3 separate regions of the Homo sapiens genome follow, and regions 1 and 3 are each linked to region 2. Evidence: promoter capture Hi-C in human tissues and cell types (Jung and others, 2019). All regions are on one chromosome and are shown on one strand. The core of a region is centred on a gene start or on the middle of the fragment in contact, and the rest is flanking DNA. Distances in the headings are between cores, read along the strand shown.

Region 1 (4,008 bases), core at 132-2,631, 1.3 Mb before region 2:
GAAGAAAGAGGAGTGTGTGTGTTTGAGGGCCCCTTAGGGGCTTTTAATGGGATTTGGAGTCAGATAGACCTGGATTCAAATTCCAGCTCGGATATTTGCTGTGTGGCCTTGGACAAGTTACTTACCTTCTCTGAGCTGCAGTTTCCTTATCTATAAAATGGAGATAGTAATCTTACCTTCCTCTGAAGGCTGTTGCAAGGATTCTGATTGCTAAATTGTGTAATGCACACCGCACAGTGCCTTGCACATAGAAGCTTCTTGTTGAATGACGGTCAGGATGATCACGTTATTATCGTTACTGGCTCAGGTATGTTTTTCTCAATCTTGTTATTTTGGACCAGACGGTCCTTTGCTGTGGTGGCTGTCCTGAGCACTGTAGGATGTTTAGCAGCATTCCTGGCCCCCACCCACCAGATTCCATAGCAACTCTCCAGCTGTAACAGCCACATGTCTCCAGACAGTGCCAAATCGCCCCTAGTTGAGAACTACGGAGCTGGAGGTAAATGCCTTGGAGATTGAGGGAGCGATCATGTGGGTTGATCCAAAAAATCTGACCCAGACAGGAGGACCTGATGTGGTGGGGGATGGAAATGGAGGAACAGGATGGGCCAAGGGTTAAGGGGCCAAGTCAAACCAGCAGATCCCAAATGAGCAGAGAAGGCGGGGGTAGGCTCTGAGCAGAAATGGGCCCAAAAATCCCAAAGAGGGTAGGTCCAACAGTTTCATCTGGGTTTCTGTTTATTTGTGTAATGGAATTTGTTTTTCCAGTTGTAAAAGTAGTGTAAGTTCATTTTAAACAAGTTGGCAAGTCCACAGAAAAGCCAATCAGAAAATAAAAATCTTGGCTGGATGTGGTGGCTCATGCCTGTAATCTCAGCACTTTGGGATGCCGAGGTGGGTGGATCACCTGAGGTCAGGAGTTCCAGACCAGACTGATCAACATGGTGAAACCCCGTCTCTACTAAAAATACAAAATTAGCTGGATGTGGTGGCACATGCCTGTAATCCCAGCTACTAGGGAGGCTGAGGCAAGAGAATCACTTGAACCCGGGAGGTGGAGGTTGTTGTGAGCTGAGATTGTGCCATTGCCCTCCAGCCTGGGCAACAACAGTGAAACTCCGTCTCAAAATTAAATAATAATAATAATAATAATAATTTAAAAAGAAAAATCTTAAGTAATCCCAGCACAATTACACGATAGAGTGTGATGTGCTCATTTGCTCTTTTTGTTCTTGTTGTTTAAGAAACAAACATTTCTTAGTGCTCACTGTGTGCAGGCCCTGCTGGGTGCTGGGGTGTCTGTGTGGGTGGGTGGGTAGGACTGTTCACATGCTCTGGACAAGACAGTGTGGGGGACAGCCTTGACTGCAGGTAGGCACAGTAGGGGTGGTGTGGTGGGGAGAGCAGAGCCTGTTCCTAGGGATGCTGCTGGTCATTTTTGTCCTCTTCTACTGGCCTCCTCCTTTGAGGATCCTTGCAGTGTCCTGGTCCTGGCTCCCTGGTCTGGATCTTTTTGGAATCTGCCCGTTCCTTTCTATCCATGCGGCCCTGCATAAGCTGCCTCCATCCACCTTGTTAGTTTCCTCCTCATGCTCCACTTTGCTTTCTGTGTGCACCAGCCACCCTGATGTTCTGTCCTTGCCTCACCTCCATCCTGTTTCATTTTCTTCAGTTTTTAAAAATTGTGGTAAAATATACACATAGCATAAAATTTACCATTTTAATCTTTTTTTTTTTTTTGACAGGGTCTTGCTCTGTCACACAGGCTGGAGTACAGCAGTGTGATCATGGCTCACTGCAGCCTCGACTTCTTGGGCCCAAGCCATCCTCCTGCCTCAGCCTCCTGTTGTAACAGTAGTGTAGCTGGGTCCCAGCTGTGTAGCTGGGACCACAAGTGTGTGCCACCATGCCTGGTTAATTTTTGTATTTTTTTTTTCCTTTTGGAGAGATGGGGCTTTGCTGTGTTGCTCAGGCTGGTCTCGAACTCCTGGGCTCAAGCAATCCTCTGATCTCAGCATCCCAAAGTGTTGGGATTACAGGTGTGAGCCACCGCACCTGGCCTGACCATTTTTAAGTATACAATGCAGAGGCATTATGTACATTCAGTGTTGTTCAACAATCACCACTATCCATTTCCATAACTTGTACATTATCCCAAATAGAAACTCTGTACCCATGAAACAATAACTCCCCATTCCCCCTGCCCCAAGATCTCAGTTACCTCTATTCTATTTTTGTCTCTATCAATTTGCTTATTCTGGGAACCTCATATGTCTGGCCTCTTTCACTTTAGCCCATATTTTCAAGGATCATCCATGCTGCAGCATGTATCAGTACTTCATTCTGCTCTATGCTGAATAATATTCCATTGTAGGTCTACATCACGTTTTGTTTATCCATTCATCCATTGACAGATACTTGTTTCCACCTTTTGGCTGTCGTGAATAGGGCTGCTATGAACATCGGTGTACTCTTCTTTTTAAACAGCTTTATTGAGATATCATTTACATATCAAAAAATGCACCCAGTTAAGTGTACAATTCAATGCTTTTTATTCTAGTCACAGAGTTGTGCAACCACCACCACCATCTAATTTTAGAAGATTTTCCCTCACCTCACACCCCCAGCTCTAGGCAGCCAGGGATCTATTTTCTGTCTATAGAGATTTGCCAATTCTGGACATTTCCTATAAATGGAATCAGACAATATGTGGTCTTTTGAACCTGCCTTCTTCATTCAGCATAATGCTTACAAGGTTCATCCATCATCACCTGTTTTGTAAGTGAAATTGTATTAGAACACAGCCCTGCTCATTTGTTTACATCTGATCCACGGCTTTGAGCTTCACAGACAGAGTTGCGACTTATAAAGTTGCACGGCTCACAGAATCAAAAGGAGCTACTATCTACCCTTTTACAGAAAAAGTTTGCTGACTCCTGGTTTATGCCCTCCAAGTTGAGCTTTCTGGAGTCTAAACTGATAAAGGCACCAAAAGATAAAAAGCGAAAAGAGGCAAAACTGATGCCAAGAACCCCAGGCCTATAAAAGCTACCATTATTGGGCCCCCACCATAGTGTAAAGCATCCCAGCCAGCCAGGCAAAGAAACACAGCAGAGGCAGAGCCCGCCTCACCTGGGAGGAGGAAGGAGAACTGTTCAACACCAAAGACAACTTTTTCTAGCAGGCTCTAATCACTCGGGGCACCTTATAGAAAGTGCATTGGCCTTCCCTGGGAAGAGCAAGTGAAGACGCCATTAGAGGAAGGGGGTTCAGCAGGCTGGATGCATGGCCCATGGTGACTCTGGCAAGCTGGTTCAACATACAGCCAAGCTTGGCAGATCCTGAGGTATCAAAGAATTCCCCAAGGCTCTCACCAAACTGTTGTGGGCCAAAATGGTTAGTACTCATTTTTTTATTTTTTCTTCTTTTTTTTTTTGAGACAGAGTTTCACTCTTGTCACCCAGGCTGGAGTGCAGTGGCACGATCTCAGATTGCAAGCTCACTGCTCGCCTGCCACCATGCCCGGCTAATTTTTGTATTTTTAGTAGAGATGGGTTTTCATCATGTTGGCCAGGCTGGTCTCGAACTCCTGACCTCAAGTGATCCAGCGGCCTTGGCCTCCCAAAGTGCTGGGATTACAGGCATGAGCCACTGCGTCCAGCCTGTTGTTATTATTATTATTATTGTAACAGAAAACTTGTTATTATAACTATTATTATCAGCAGTAGCAAAAGCAACCGTCACACAACTCCTCTAGTTCTCTCCCGCTTCCCTGCCTTGCTCATTAGCAACAACACAGCAGAGAAGGGCGGTAAAACCTTTCACACACTCAGAGAGCCTGTAAATGTTTTTTATTTACAGGCTGCTGGAAAATGGTAGAAGCAGCCAGACCAATCCCCTATGGGAAGCTTCTCTTCTGTGGAGGTGGAAAAAGAAGGGCATTTGAACTGGGACAGAAAACAGGGACAATCCCATTAGCTCTGGTTGGTAGAGATGCTGCCACCTTTG
Region 2 (4,232 bases), core at 1,679-4,178:
CCCCTATCCTCCCTGGGCTGGGATGGGAGGGAGGGATCAGCAGGCACTTCTTCTAACCATCCCGCCCCCGACCCCCAAACTTACTGCTGGCTGGCACAGGCTCCCACCTTTCGGCCCAGATGCCTCCCCTTCATGGGCAAACCCCTCTGTAGCATTCATCACCCTCCCAGCAACCCCGCCACTCACCCAATCCAGCCACCTTCCTGAGACCCTGCTATGTACCAGACAGGATAGGGAGGAGAAAGAAGTGCAAATGTGCTGGAACAGTCCCCTCCCACCCCTCCAATGGTGCCTTTGCTCTCCCTGTGGCTGGTGTCTCTTCCTTCACTCCCAGTTGCAGACATCCCCAAAGCCACCCAGACCCCTTCTTCCCAGTCACTGCAGCCATTGGTTCATTATCCCTTGACCGCTGGATCCTCCACCCCAGCACATCTGGTACAGACTGACTTTCCTAAAGTGCTGCTCTGTTGTGTCACTCCTCTCCTCAGAAACCTTCAGTGGCTCCCACTTTCTGCAAATCAGATCCAAAGTTCTTATCCTGTCATTCAAGGCCCTCCGTAAGCTGATCCCACCTACTATTCCCACTGCATATCCCCACACGTTCCCAAACTTCAGCCAGAATGAGCAACCTAGAGGTTTCTCGAGAATTCTCAGGACAGGTTGACCTCCCTGCCTCTGCCTAGGCATTTTCCTCTCCTCAAGACACTATCTTCATTCTGGCTGCCGAAATCTTCCCAGTCTGTAAGGCCCTGAAGATCCCTCTAATCCTTTTTTCATTTATCTTCCATCAGAGTCCCTGGTATTCTTGTGTAAGCCCCTTCCCGGATGGTAAGCAACCTGAGGGTGCAGGCCTTATGTGGTCGCTTGTCATTCATCGAGCAGGAAGTGGGGGTGGTGGTGGGGAGGGCTTTCCATTAAGGCTCACTAGGTAGGCTCTGTTGAAATGAACGTCTCCTCCTCCCCACCTCAGGCACCACCTACCAGACCCTCTCCCTCCCCACCATACCAAACTCCAATTTATGCCACTTCAGTGCTTGAAGAGACTGTGGTCCCATGTTGATCCAAGCCAAACCAGGACCAGGAGCCCAGAGAGAAAGTCCTATTCAAGTCTCACCCCCTCCAGGAAGCCTCCTTACCCCCACCCCCTGCCCTGGCTTCTCAAGTGTCTCACTCTTCTGAACACCTCCCCCTGCCCTACATACACACACAGTCTCCTGCACACAGCGCAGCCGCCAGTCCGTCTCTGTCCCACAGCACTTTCCAGTTTGTTCCATACTGTACAGCTTATCTCCCAGAAGATGCAGGGAGCCAATATAATGCAGCACCTTCAGCGTCCTTCAGTGTCCAACCCTGCTTAGATATCGGGTGCCCACATTGCCCCTCGCCCCCATCCCAAGCCAAGTGTGCAATGGTATAGCTGGATTCCAGCCACCAGGGCAGAACAGACCCATGAAATCTCATCTGGTTATAAGCCCTGGGTGTGACTGATCCTCTCTACAGGGACATGGTAGGGATGGGGGAGCCCTCATTGTCAGCAACTCAGGCCTGGCTAGTTCACCTCTGTATCCTCTAGCTCTCTCTAGCATATAGTAGGTGCTCAGTAAACATTTTTAGACTTATTTAACTCAACACTTACCAACCTCAAGCAACATTACAGAAAACTCAGCCACTCTTTGTTCCAGATGACACAGTCCTCATCCCTCAAATAGAGTGATGTTGGTGGCAGGTGGCAATTTCTGGCTTTCACAAGGTCAGGAGGGGCTGTAGCCAACCCCATCTCTCCAAGAAAAAAAAAAGGCTCATTCCCCATAGGAAGCAAGCCCATCACCTGCCCACCCGCATCAAAGCAGCTGTCACAGAGGGAGGTCTCACTGGTTTCCTGGCACCTTGCTAAGTAGTGTATACACATTATTCTATTTAGTGCTTGCTCCTGCTATTGGATATTGTCATTATCCCCATTTTACAGGTGAGGAAACTGAAGTTTGGAGGGGGAATGGAATCCAAATCAGTTTGATCCCAAAGCCCAAGCCTTGACCACAGAACTATGCTGCCCCGCTACTGGGGCCCAGCACAGAGCACCCACCACCTCCAGGAACAGAACCCGTCAGCCAAGAAATTAACCCCGGGTATGCTTCAAGGGCCCCTGGGGCCCTGGGCTTGACCCTGGGCCCAAGGATTGGTGGGGTTTTCCCTTCTCTTCCCCACTCACCAGTGTAAGAACTGTTCCCCAGTTTCCAACCTCCTGCTCAGGCCAGCTCACCTGGAAAAGCCCCACTGAGTTTCCAACTTGAAGTCTTAGGGGGTCCGGCTCAGTTGAACTGTTAGAATTGGTGGGAAGCAGGTGAGGCGGGAAATGGAACCTCCCTGCTTTGGCCTCCTCTTCCCCAGGGTTGGTGGGTTCGAGCCCCAACCGAGGAAACAGTGCACTCTTTAAAGCAATTCGCTTCTCTCAGTCCCATTTTGCAGGGAGAGAAACTGCAGAGGGCAACGCGATGGGAACACCTGTGGCGACCTGCAGCCTGCTCTCACCTGCCAGCTCTCACCTTCCGGCGTTTTAAGTGAGAAAGGGCAACGGGAGCGTGGAATTCACCTGGTTCACTTCCTCCTGCTGGAACCCGGGAGGTCCAGAGCCAGGTAGAGGGACGGACCCAGGATCACGCAGCTGTGCACGGCCGAGTGTGAGAACTGGGGGTTCAGGACTGGTGGCTAAAGCTCCTTTTCACCCACCAGCTGCCCCGACCTGTCACTAGTTCCGAGGAAAGTTGTCCGAGCCGGACCGCAGAAGCGGGGGCTAAAACTAACTTTGCCTATGGTTGTCCGGCAGGCTACCCCGGCCCGCTGCCCCCTTGCTCACCTGCGGGTTCTGCTTTCTGCTCCGCGCTGCAGGCCCAGCGTCACCCGCTCGTGCCTCAGTCGGCGTCGGACTGCACAGCCCGGGGCTCAGTCACTCCTCGGCCCCCTCCCGGCTGCAGCCGGGGAACGCCGCGGACTCGGCAGGCCCCGCCCCCAGAAGACACGCCCCCTCCGCCGGCCCCGCCCCCGAGCCCTTTGGGAAGGCGGTGCGCTCCCGCCGGCCAGGCCCCGCCCACTATGGCCGTACCCCAACCAGCCTCGCCCCCGGGCCCAGCTGGAGCTGAGGCCCCGCCCCGCTACGGAGTCTCTCCTCTATCCCGGCAGCCCCGCCCCCAGGTTACACTGGGGATTAAGCCCGCCCCGCTCCAGCCCTGTCCACTCACGGCGCTGCCTAACGGTCCCGCCCAGCTCCCGCCTACCTCGTCCTCCCGGTCTCCTCCCGGGCCCTCCCAGCGCCCCCGCCTCCTTCACTTTCTCCTTCGAGCCCACCCCATCCCCCGGCCCTAGTAGGGTGAGGCCACGCCCCTCCCCGCACCAGCCTGGGCTCAGCGCCTTCCTAATCCTGCCCTGCCCTGCCCCTCTCATCTCGGGCGGGTAGCCCTGGGGCCCCCACGCTGGCATTCCAGGGCGGGTGTATCCGGGTGCCGCCGGGGAACGGCGTGGGAGCGGTTTGTGTCCTAAGTCGGGGCCTCTATCAGGAGGCGGCCTGGGCCCAGGAACTTTTTGAAAATACTGACTACCATTGATTGAATCCTTGCCAGGGGCCAGGCTCTATGCCAAGCGCTGAATACAGTTCTAGCCCTTGAATTCCCACAACTCATGGGTACTCTCGTTGCGCCTATTTTACTAATGCGCAGTTTAAGGCTCAGAGAAGGGAAGTCGAGGGCTCTGAATCTCATGGAGGCGGGCGTGAGCGGGATCCAGCCTCAGGTCCTGAGTCACAGGCTTGAGCTGCCCCAGCTTGCCTGGACTGGCCCCTGGGGAAGTAGCCCAGAACAACCAGTGCTGGGGCAGTGCCCAGCAGCTGCCTGAGGTGAGGGAGGAGGTGTGGGTTGATGAGAATAGTGGCAGGAGGGGCTGTGGGCCTAAGCCCTCAAAGCTGGCTTTCTCCCTGAAGAAAAAGTGGCCCAAAATTGAGGTGGGCTGCAAGAGCTCTCTAGGTGGCTGCGGTGCCCACCCTGCGTCCCAGCCCTCTGCCCTCCCAGGCTCCAGAGGACTAGCCTCAGGCAGATTACCTGGTTAATGACCAGGGGCATTCACCTGTGCAGCTGACAAAGCTCTTTCACTTCCATTATCACAATGTCCTCTCACAACACACCGTTGTGGGAGGGTATGATTATGAGCGCTTTGTACGAGTGGAGTAAGGGCGGGAGCTGGAT
Region 3 (3,959 bases), core at 1,322-3,821, 1.2 Mb after region 2:
TAAAGTTTGAGAACCACTTTCTTCTAGTGAACCAACAGGCAGGCAGGCAGGCGTCAAGCTTGGCTGCCAGCTTCTTGCTAGATATGTCATTTTAGGTCTTTCAAGATTGCCCTCTGTGTGTGTTATTTAAGGTTGGTATGCTTTTGGTTTTCTCCTTGGGAAAAGAAGGATGAGAATATTGTTTAACCACTTCTCTACACAAGTGTATGCAGGAGAGCAGTTGCTAAGTGTTTAAACACCACGCTATAGAAATGTAGAAACAACCACAGCATTGGTGTTTTTTTTTTCTTCATTCCAGGAACAGCTTTTCTTAAAGGCCTGAAGACTGAACATTCATTTCATTAAAAATATATGGCTTATTTGCTTTTTGCCTGGTACTCTGATAGTCTCTGGGTATGGAAATGTAACCATTGGGCAGTGTGCAATATAGTGAGATATTATTGGCAGGTTAACAATTAAAATACAGGATAATGGGGGTGTATGAATGCATATGTACAGGAGAGAGCAACCAACCAGGTGAAAAAAAGGTTTGGAGCTCAGGTGCTGGTTCAGGCAGAATAATAAGTGAAAAGGTGAAGTTGGCCGGGCGCGGTGGCTCACGCCTGTAATCCCAGCACTTTGGGAGGCCGAGGTGGATGGATCACTGAGGTCAGGAGTTCAAGACTGGCCTGGCCAAGATGGTGAAACCCCGCCTCTACTAAAAATACAAAAATCAGCCGGGCATGGTGGCGGGCACCTGTAATTCCAGCTACTTGGGAGGCTGAGGCAGAGAATTGCTTGAACACGGGAGGCGGGGATTGCAGTGAGCCGAGATCACACCACTGCACTCCAGCCTAAGTGACAGAGCGAGAATCCGTCTCAAGAAACGAAAAGGTGAAGTCAGTGGCATGTTTTAAGAGTTTCTTGGAGTTTAGACATAGGCAATAGGGAGTGTTTCAGAATTTTAAAATAGAGAAGTGGCAAATGATGGAATCCCTTTTGTCTCAGCATCTTATTTTTGGGGCATAGAGGTCAACCCTATTTCTTGTGTATAAAGCTGACATCATCATCATCTAACATTTCTTGAGTGTTTAATACGTACTGGGTCCTGTACATGCATAGTTCCTATTAATCGTCACAACTTACCAAGCTCTGGCTAGTTAAGTAAGTTGGCCAAGATCATATTGCTAAGTGGTAGAGCTCAGGTTTGGACTCAGATCCACCTGACTCTAGATCTGAGAGCCTGAGAATGAATGAATGTTAGTGAGGAATTTGAGAAAGGCCCCAGCATCACATATTTTGCTATCAGCAATTTCTTTGACCTTCACAAGTTAACCTCTAAAGGGGTGGAATTATAGCTTCTATAGCTTTATTATACCACCTATTTTCTGTAGATGATAACTCTTATCTTTTGGGATCCTGTATTAGTTTTCTAATGCTGTGTAACAATTGCCACAAACTTAGCTTAACACATTATCTGACAGTTTCCTTGGGGCAAAAGTCTTCTGCTGTGGTGTGACTGAGTTCTCTGCTCAGTGTCACAAGGCTCATATCAAGGCTGCAATCTCATCTGAGGCTTGGGGTTCCTCAGTCAAGCTCATTCTTCAAGTCCTTGGCAGAATTCAATTTATTGCCAATGTAGGACTGAGGGCTCCATTTTCTTACTGGCTGCTGATTGTGGCCATTAACATTGAGGCTACCCACAGTTTTCTGCCATGTGGCTCTCACAATGGCAGTTATTCCTTGAAGGCAAGCAGAATATTTCCACTGCTGAAATCTCTTGAATTCCTCTATCTCTAAGCCTAGACTTAAAGGGCTCATGTGAGTTGATAAGGTCTATCTGAATAATATCCCTTTTTATTCAACTGATTAGTAACTTTAATGCCATCTGCAAAAATTTCGTTTGCCATATAACATTATCTTAGTCCATTTTGTGTTGTTATAACAGAATACCTAAAGCTGGGCAATTCATAAAGAAAAGAGGTTTAATTGGCTTATGATTCTGGTGGCTGAAAAGTCCAAGATTGGGCAGCCGCATCTGGTAAGGGCCTCACGCTGCTTCCACTTAGGGAGGAAAGCAGAAGGGGAGTGGGTGTGCATAGAGATCACATGTTGAGAGAAGCAGCAAGAGAGACAAATCAAGAAAGCCAAACTCTTTTAACAACCCACACTCGAGAACTAATTCATTCCTGAGAGAGCAAGAACTCACCTCCCCCCCCACCACCGTGAGGGCATTAATCTGTTCATGACAGATCCACCCCCATGACCCAGAAACCTTCCACTAGGCCCCATCTCCCAACACTGCCACATTGGGTACCAAATTTCAACATGAGTTTTGGCGGCCCTAACCACATCCAAACCTATGATCACAGGAGTGATATCGTATTCATGTTTTACCCACATAGTCAAGTTAGGAAATTTCCCCCTTTTCTACTCTATTAAGGTGAAATGGACAAAATTGTATATATTTAGTGTACAACATGATGTTTTAATATACGTAGGGGAGATTTTATGCGGGCAAGGACCATTGGGTATCATCTTAGAATTTTGCCTACCACAGATCTTGACTGCCAAGTACCATTCTTCTAGTCTTTCACTGAACTGTTTTAAGTATCACAGACTAATTTAGACATACTTTTGCTCCTGTTCCCTGCCTAAAATCCTTTCCTCATGCTGCTTTCTCAAATCTATTTAAGATACAGTTGAAATCCTAGCCTGCAAAAATGTCTGTCAACTTGTTTGCCACCTCTGAATTCTGTCAGTAATATGACAATACTATGCTGCTTTGTGATATTATTTTATAAACTTTGAACAGCCAAACTCTTGAGTGGTTCTTGCAATAGTTCTTAGTTCTAATCTGGTGAGGCAGAACACTCAAACAGTAAGTCAGGCAAAGCAAATTTTTTACAAATAGGCAGCAAAGATACACAGAAATGGAGGATCCATGGTTAGCTGATCCCATGGCTCAGGAAAGCTGCTTAGGGCAGATGGAGCCTCATCTGCACATACCCCATGTTGCAGCACAGATGAGGGACTCCAAAAACACTTTGGGTTTTATACCCTGGGTGTAACTGAGATTGCTGAGTACAAGTGTTGCAGAACATCCTGTTTTAGGAAAAATGAGGACGCAGCCCAGGTTGTTCTGGAAGCTTCCTCCTTATCTCAGGATGTTGCATTCTCAGTACATTCTGCCTGAAAATTGCAAGCAAGAGGGGGAAGAGCTGGCATGGCCAAGGCCATCCAGGGACCTGTCATCTTGCAATTCTATAATTACCTACACTAGCAACTGAGGGCAGGAAGCATTTCCTATACTAACATTTTTATCTTCCTTGGAACTTCTGTGCAAAATAGTTTGTTGACTCAGTTTTTTAGCTCCCCCAAATGTAGCATTCCCATTTTGTGTGAATAAAACAAAAAACTTAAATAAAATTGTTCCTACTAATTTTCTACATCCAGATCACTTGTCACCGTTCTTTTATTCTGTTGTTCTAAGATCTGATGTTTCTTTTTTCATTATACTTTTCCTCTTCGATGAAATTTATAGAAATACAGGATGGCAGTTGACAAAATTGCTGATATCTCAAATTGTGATTCAATTGTTAGTTCAACGAATGATAGGCAAGTCCCTAACTGCATGTAATTTAGTCTTTCAACATATTTTAGCAAATAGGTCTTTTATTTACTATTACTATAAATCATAGAATTCTTGAAGTTATGAATTAGAATTCATTCTGTTGATAGAATGAATGATCTTTCTGGATTAACGTCCTCCCTTGGGCCACCTTACCTGAAAATTGCAAAGGATTTACATACTGCCTATTCCTTAGAGAAAATATTTAAGATATAAATACCCCTAGGGAGGAGGGTAACACTCTGGCTTACATTCTGTTATCTTTTGCTTTGTAATAAAACCAATGTAAGTCTTAGAGGTTTAAATTTTAAGCCTTAAAACATGATTTATTATTTTTCAGTTTGTTGGA

The links. Contacts are between HindIII fragments. The study calls those that stand out against the background at their distance.
Region 1: a contact is called between a fragment that was not itself captured here and the fragment with the promoter of CD82 in region 2, in 1 of the 25 tissues and cell types used here (mesenchymal stem cells).
Region 3: a fragment that was not itself captured here is called in contact with the fragment with the promoter of CD82 in region 2 in 1 of the 25 tissues and cell types used here (aorta).

Annotation. Positions count from the first base shown.
Region 1 is chr11:45,829,386-45,833,393 of GRCh38, reverse strand. No RefSeq gene overlaps it. Among named protein-coding and RNA genes, the nearest start is that of CRY2, 16 kb to the left of the region's middle. The HindIII fragment of the contact is 5,925 bases long and covers 1-4,008 here.
Region 2 is chr11:44,564,359-44,568,590 of GRCh38, reverse strand. CD82 (CD82 molecule) reads right to left here and starts at 2,928. Exons shown (of 10, transcript NM_002231.4): 1 at 2,855-2,928. RefSeq lists enhancers at 1,840-1,909, 2,415-2,915 and a silencer at 2,830-3,429. The HindIII fragment of the contact is 10,159 bases long and covers 1-4,232 here.
Region 3 is chr11:43,354,102-43,358,060 of GRCh38, reverse strand. No RefSeq gene overlaps it. Among named protein-coding and RNA genes, the nearest start is that of TTC17, 2.8 kb to the left of the region's middle. The HindIII fragment of the contact is 5,525 bases long and covers 1-3,959 here.